Regions from separate parts of the Homo sapiens genome. Here region 1 is linked to region 2. The links are contacts of gene promoters, found by promoter capture Hi-C in human tissues and cell types (Jung and others, 2019). All regions are on one chromosome and are shown on one strand. Each heading gives the region's core, a stretch centred on a gene start or on the middle of the fragment in contact. The rest is flanking DNA. Distances are from core to core; before and after follow the strand shown. Region 1 has its middle 35 kb from the start of CD8A. Region 2 holds the start of CD8B (CD8 subunit beta).

Region 1 (3,879 bases), core at 532-3,031, 36 kb after region 2:
AAGCGTTTGGTACTGTTCCATTTACCTGCATTATGTCAATTAACCGCTTATGCAAGTACGTACTCTTGCCATTTTATAAGCAGGTCGCTAAGCCTAAACTCAGTCAAGTCACCAGGCAGGAAAGCAACACTATAAGGATAGGACTTTACTCAAATAGTGTAGACCACCCACTGATACCTGGTGAGATGTCCTTGCCCCATCCCCCAGCACATGGGAACAAGAGCCAAGGCAGTTCAACTTCAGGTCCTGCACAAGTTTTCCTAGTCTCATCTACAAAGCCCCAGAGTTCATGATCACTGCATATAAGCTATGAGTTCTTCCTCTACTTTTGTTGTGGGTGAAACAGCAGCAAACTGCAATTAAAATTCAAAAATCTTTGCAACTAGCAAAATCTGATCCATTAGTCCAGAGCTGTAGATCTCTATGTTGCAAAAACAATTTAAAGTCTACATTATTCAGCTTCCAAAATAAAACGTGAACACCCTTTACAGCAACCCTGCCCCATATTTGTCTACCCCACATTTTTTTTTTTTTTTTTGAGATAGGGTCTTGCTCTGTGACCCAGGCTGGAGTGCAGTGGTGCCCTCTCGGCTCACTGCAATCTCTGCCTCCTGGGCTCCAGTGATCTTCCCACTTAGCTCGTGAGTAGCTGGGACCACAGGCACATGCCACCATGCCTGGCTAATTTTTTTAACTTTTGTGGAGATGGGGTTTCACCATGTTGGCCAGGCTGGTCTCAATCTGGGCTCAAGCAATCCACCCACCTCAGTCTACCAATGTGTTGGGATTACAGGCATTAGCCACCACACCAGGCCCCCAGCCCACATTTAACTACCTCTCGTGACATAAAACCCGAACTCTCAGGGCAAGCCAATTCATGTTTAACTCTACCAGAAGGTTTTTTTTTTTTTAACTCAAAAGAAGTCCTTGCAAGCTTCCAAGAATCACTCATAAACAAGTCTACTCAGTGGCTTACACTTGAGCACAGTCTTAGCTGATGAACCAAGATGAACTCTTTGCTGCCACAAAATCCACAGTCAGCCAGGCACAGTGGCTCATGCCTGTAATCCTCACACTCTGGGAGGCCGAGGCGAGTGGATCACCTGAGGTCAGGAGTTGGAGACCAGCCTGGCCAACATGGTGAAACCCTCTCTCTACTAAAAATACAAAAATTGCTGGGTGTGGTGGCAGGTGCCTATAATTCCAGCTACTCAGGAGACTGAAGCAGGAGAATCGCTTGAACCCGAGAGGCAGAGGTTGCAGTGAGCCGAGATCATGCCACTGCACTCCAGCCTGGGTGACAGAGTGAGACCCCGTCTCAAAAAAAAAAAAAAACAAGAAATTCACAGTCATGTCTACATGTGTGAACCACAGCCAATTCCAGTGCCCACTGTAATTCCACCCCTTTCGATCCTGCTAAGGAAGCCTCCCACAGTGTACTTGGGCGAGAGCGACACTGTCGTCTACAGGAATAACCTTGAACCTGTTCTACTTCTTAAAAATGAAGTGAACATTTTTAGTAGCCACGCTTCACACCCAGCAGCGGCACAGTAAGGTATCTATACAGGCAGGATTAAGATGGTCGTTAGGGTTCTTTCCAAGTGACAGGGCTCAGGTGATGCACCCAAGTCCATGGCCACCCTTCCTGGGTCACCGCCTCTCCCATAGGTCTTTTGTTCTCCTGGCCCCAAACCTCCACTGCTTTCTACATTGTCAGAATCGATTGGTGGTTCCTGTTTCCTTCTCACTTACCGACCTGCACATGTCACAGATTCTCAGCATATTCCATTTGCAAGAAAGCCACTGTTTTAGAGTGGCTCTCTGTTTTGTTTTGATTGTTGAGAGGAGCTCGTGGGCATTATTGCTGCATCACCCGCCACACAACTGGGGAGGTGTCACCGGCTAAACAAAAGGCAGGGGTGACGGCTCCTCACCCCTGTGGCCCAGATGGACTCCTCTGACAACCGGGGCAGAGCTAGGAAGACAATACAGACTCTCATGTTGCCTGCACAGAGCTCCCCACAAGACCACACTTCCTCCCGGGCTTTGAAGGGTACATCAATATAAGACAAATGATACGTTCTAAAAAACCGCCTGCAAACACGGGCACCTGAGCCTGCTTGGTCTGCAAATGTTTCAAGGCTCAGGGAGGCTGTCATGGATGTTTTCCCCCCGAGAGCTCCAGTGGCGGAGGTCTGCACATTCAGGTAGGAGCTCCTGTTCATGTCCGAATGGCACCCCTGTCTCCTCCTGGTGCTCTTTGGGGCAGCTGACACCATGTTGAGCATGCAGCCTGTTACAGTCAGGTAGGACAATAAAGAGTGGAGTGGCGGGCAGGAGGTGAGGCATGGGCAGTGGCCCTTTCTGAGGGGCTCCCATGCCCCCCTTAGAGCCTGCTGTTCAGACTTGGAGGTGGCAGCGAAGAACGGGTCCCAACACTTATCTTTGCTCATGTTGCCGCTGCATGCAGTTTCTGTTGGCTTCTTCGGAGAGGTGTCTAGTGCAGTTATCACCCATAGGAGCCTGAGCTGGCTGGAGCTCTGGGACATTCACCTGGCTCAGTCTTTTCCCACCTGAGAGGTGCCTGGGTGCTGCCTGCCAGGGCAGCCGTTGTCTGATTCCATCGTGATCACAGCAACCGCAAGCCAGCCACAAGCCTCTGTCTTTGTGTGCCTGGGGTTTACTGCGACCCTTGGGGATTCAAATGGGGTCAGATTGAAATGAGCAAAGAATCCTCTGAAGCCTGGACTCTTTCCCAAGGAAGTCAAAGGGAATGGCCAAGGAGGGGTTGGGGGATCCTGGAGGACGGTGATCCTCACCCTCCACTCCCACAGCCCCCATAGCCCCCCAGTAGGGGGGAGTCAGACAGAGCTGCCGCCATCCCTGGGACCACCTGCACACCTGCCCCTTTTATGTGGGGACGTTATGTAGGGCGGCCCCTCTCCAACCCCAGCAGCACACCCCCCACACCGACACCCAAGCTGCGTGGGACAGAACCAACAAGTTCACTTACCAAGGCAGATGCACCCATCACCCCTGCTCTTTTCCCAGCCTCCTCATGTGCCAGAGCTGCCTTAGGAGCTGTGGAGGAAACTCCAGGGCCCATATAAATTGCTTAGAGCTTTGGAACCCACGCAAGAGATCCATCCTCAGGAAATACTAATCTGTGCCATCATCATTATTTATTGGCATTAGTTATGTGTTCTAGAAATAACAATAGAACAACCTAAGTGGTTGACTATAAAGAGGAGTTTCAATAAGCTGTGGTCATTTACTTGGTATACAAGTATTCAAACCTTAAAAACGGTGGTTCTAAAGATTCTGGAAGCGATTCAGGGAAGGTTTATGCAATGAAGTAAAGGAAAAGCAGGATGTAGCACTGTGTTTATAGTAAGCAAGGTCGAGACAAGGCCTTGGGACAGAAGCACAAGAAAGCATCCCTGAGTGTGCTCTGGAGGGACTAGAACCTTCTTTCCACCTCTGATGGTGAGCTCTCCTCCCCTTCCCTCCACCACAAGGCCTCCCTCTCTCTTCCCTGACCCAGGGCACTGATGAAAAGCCCCCTCCCCACAGGACCCCAGGAAGGGAATGGGTTGCAGGTTTGTGCAGGGGGAGGCTTTTTCTCTTTTCATCTGCTCATTCATTCAATCACAGATTTACTCTTCATTCCCTTAGCTGCTCTTTGGCCTGGAGCACGTGGCTTCTTGCCCTTTGGCCTCCTAAAAATTAGAGGTAACAATTGCTTTCCTGTTGCATGTCCAGCACAACAGACATTGCACACACAGCCACCCAGCCCTGCACAAAGATGCAGAACAAAATGGGGGTTTCGGGCTGATTTGGCCACTTCCAGCTGTGTGCAAAGCAGCATTGATCTGAGCC
Region 2 (3,748 bases), core at 920-3,419:
AGTGATGTTGATGCTTCCAGGCCTGGTACCCAGCCCCAGCACCCCCTACACTGCCCTGGTGAAGGCAGTCATCCTCTTTTCCCTTTGCACAGTGATCTCTGGAGCCATGAGTTGAAGATGGGGGAAAGACCCTGGTCCCCTGCAGGACTGAGTGGAGCAAATACTCCTTACTCCCTGGCACAACTGCACTTGAATGTCACAGAACAATGCAGGGGATTTGTATTGAGTTAAACCACTAATATTTAGAGGTTAATTTATCACAGACGCAAGAGTTTCCATAACTAATGCATCCAGGGGTTCCCTGTCTATGATTTTAGACAATACCTGACAAAGCAGTGAGTAACTTTTAATCATTTACTGAGAAAGTTGTTCCTTTTGCAATGCTGTGGCGCCCATGAGAGAGTGGATAGAAAGAGGTAGCTTGTGTTTTCTAAACAACAAATACTTTGAATACACATACAAAGAAGAAATACAAATGGCCAACAAGCACATGAATTGATGCTTAACATCATTTCTCATTCAGGAAGTACAAATCCAAACCACAATGAGATATCACTTCACACCCACTAGGATGGAACAAAACAAAAACAGAAAATAACAAGTGTTGGCGATGATGTGGGGAAATTGGAACCCTTTCATTGTTGGCAGAAATGTAAATGGTCACAGCTGCTATGGAAATCAGTTGGTTAGTCCCTCAAAAAGTTAAACATAGAATTATTGTATGACCCAGCAATTGCACTGCCTGAGTACATACCTGAAAGAATTGAAAACAGGCACCCAAACATATATTTGTACAAGAATGTTCACAGTAGCATTACTCACAAAAGTCAAAAAGTAGATATAGTAGCCCACTCAAATGTCCATCATTAGATGAACAGATAAAGAAAATGTGGTATATACAGGTACATACACAAAATATTACTCAACAATAAGAAGAAATGGTGCTATAATGGGGATGAACCTGAAAAACATTGCGCTGAGTCAAAGAAGCCATTCGCTAAAGACCACACATTGTATGGGAGCCAAGGCAGTATCCAGCGAGACTCTGGCCTCTGGCTGGGCTGAGTGACTTCTTTTCCCCCAGTGCCTTTGAACTCTCTGCACCCAACTCAGCCATGAGCAATGCTGTCACCAGCAATGGGCAGAGGGGCTGGGGCAAGAGTGGGATGGAAAGAATACTGGATGTGGAGACCAAATGTGACAGTGTCCTTGCCCGGCTGCCTGCTTTAGATCTCAGGGGACACGCCATTTCCTCTCCGATAAACTCTAAGCTCTTAGGGTAACCCATGGACCTGCCTGGCTGGGTCTTTGTTGACATTTACAAGGAGCCTCTCCCGCAGCCCTCCAAGGGGTCCCTCTCCCCTGCAGGCTGCATGCCCAGTTCTCCCTGGACCTCCCCAACCCCCTCTCTACTAACCCCCGTTTGAACAGGAAGACACAGCCTGAGCCAGGTCTCCCCTCACAAATCTCCCCACCAGGGCTGGATCGCGCAACAAATAGAGCCAGCCCCAGGGCACTCGCCGGCAGGGCGCAGCCGGTGATCGTCACAGTCCTTCGAAATTCTTAAGATCTAGGTCTTGCTGCACCCCCACAACCTACAAACAGCGTCGGGGCCTTCTCTGCACCTCCAGTTCCCAGCTCACCTCCCTCAGTGTCACAGCCGGTTACCTTTCCTTCCTCCCTGGCAAGGGAGGGCAAGACTTGGGGCTTGCTGACTCCAGGCCCAGCCCAGCCCGGGGCACCCAGGAGCCCCTCAATTGCTACTCAAACAAGACAAGAAGCGGCCCGAGTTAGTGGCCAGCTCCACCATGCACTACACATCCTGACCTCTCTGAGCCTCTACTGTCACTCGGGGTCACAACCCTTTCCTGAGCACCTCCCGGGGCAGGGGGCGATGACACACATGCAGCTGCCTGGGGGAGGCCGGCGGTGTCCCCTCCTTTCTGGAAAGCGGAGGGTCCTGGTGGGCTCTGGAAACGCAGCCCAGACCTTTGCAATGCTAGGAGGATGAGGGCGGAGACCTCGCGGTCCCCAACACCAGACTCCCGCCGCCACCGCGCCCGGTCCCGCCCTCCCCACTGCCCCCCCAGCTCCCCGACCCAGGCGCCCCGCCCGGCCAGCTCCTCACCCACCCCAGCCGCGACTGTCTCCGCCGAGCCCCCGGGGCCAGGTGTCCCGGGCGCGCCACGATGCGGCCGCGGCTGTGGCTCCTCTTGGCCGCGCAGCTGACAGGTAAGGCGGCGGCGCGCGGGCTACCCAAGGGTCTGCGCTCCCGGGGCCTGAGCGGGGAGGTGATAAGTGGCTGTCCTGGCCCTGGTCCTGGCAGGGTGCAGCGTCGAGCCCGCGGTGGCGGGGCGCCCGGGAGGCAGCTTGGCAGGCACGGTCCCTAAGGGTGGAAATAAAATACCCCCATATCGCATTACCCCGGGGGACCGGAGAGCCCCTGGACTGAGGCCACCTCCCCTCAAAAGCCTGGACGCAGGAGAAGGGGAGGCAGTGAAAAGGGGAGCGAGTGAGGGAAGGAAAGAGAGGGTCGCTGGAGGTCACCAGGGGAAGGAAACAGGTCCCTGCCCAGGGTCCCCGCAGGATGTGCTCGGAGGAAGGTTGGCCAGGCCATGGGTCCTGTGGACACATTTTTATTACTTCCGGGGAAGTGTTTGTAGTACAATCAGACAAACATCGGGCGTTCTCAGTTCTCGGAGGGCTAGGGCAGGGTGATCCCTCTGGCTCCCGTTCTCCCTGATGTCGCTGGTGTTGGGTGTCATGGGTAGCGTGGCTCCCTAGGAAGCAGCCTGGAGGTTGGGTTGTTGGAGTTGGATGGGGCATCTGGATTGTCCTTCTGAATAAGCCCAGCCAGACTGCCTTTTGGAAGAAGCCTCCACACACCCGGAAAACTACCCAAACTGGTCGATTTGCTCTCGTGCCCAAAAAGCCCAAAGCTGGTCATCTTGCCAGGGGGTGACAAGGCCTGCCCGCCGGGGGTTCTGGCCCAGTGAGTGCAACATCATAAATAGAAACAGCCCAGGCCGTTCAGAGCACTAAAGTCATTACTGATGGATCTAGAAACATCAGGTCCCTCTGAGAATGGAATTCCTGGGTTACCGAGGGGAACATGCAGTGAGGCCTGGCTCCATGTCCAGCACACAGCAGGGCCTTGGCCACAGCCCGGAGTATTCAGTTCCTAGGGGACAAAAAGCAAGTGGGCCCCGGGAAGAGCCGGGGTGTGTCTCAGCCAGGAGAGGAAATGCACACTCACAGCCCAGGCCTTGCTCTTACAGGAGTCGCTTCTGGGTTTTCCCGGAAGGGCTTCGGGCACCTGTGTACTTGCAGCCCCACTGTGTGCTCGTGAGCACATAACCACCATCAGGGAGAGGATTGCAGGTTTCTTCAATTCAGTGGTTCAAAGTCAGGTTTTGGGGTCCCACAAGCTGGGTTTTAATCTGGATCACTGTGTGACCTTGAGCACATCTTTAACCCTCCTGAGTCTCTCTTTCCTCATGGGTAAAGTAGGTGCAAAACAGTATCTCCCCCACAGGATTTGGTGAGGATCAAATGAGATAATGTATGCGCCATGCCAGGCACAGCTCAATAAACTGGCATTATTGGTTCTTATTAACTCCCCCAAGAAGTGAGTGACCCAAAGCAAGGAAAAACCTCTGCTCTGCTGGAACCGCAGTGTGGTGTTTGGGGAAACAAGAGGAAGTCCAGCAGCCACTTGTGCCCCAGGCATCATTTCCTTCTTGTTTTT

Evidence for each region. Contacts are between HindIII fragments. The study calls those that stand out against the background at their distance.
Region 1: a fragment that was not itself captured here is called in contact with the fragment with the promoter of CD8B in region 2 in 1 of the 25 tissues and cell types used here (psoas muscle).

What each region holds. Positions count from the first base shown.
Region 1 is chr2:86,824,281-86,828,159 of GRCh38, reverse strand. It overlaps a transcript of CD8B not described here. Among named protein-coding and RNA genes, the nearest start is that of CD8A, 35 kb to the right of the region's middle. The HindIII fragment of the contact is 8,744 bases long and covers 1-3,879 here.
Region 2 is chr2:86,860,307-86,864,054 of GRCh38, reverse strand. It overlaps CD8B (CD8 subunit beta), which reads left to right and starts at 2,169. Exons shown (of 6, transcript NM_004931.5): 1 at 2,169-2,232. The coding sequence starts at 2,190. It also overlaps the pseudogene ANAPC1P1. The HindIII fragment of the contact is 19,466 bases long and covers 1-3,748 here.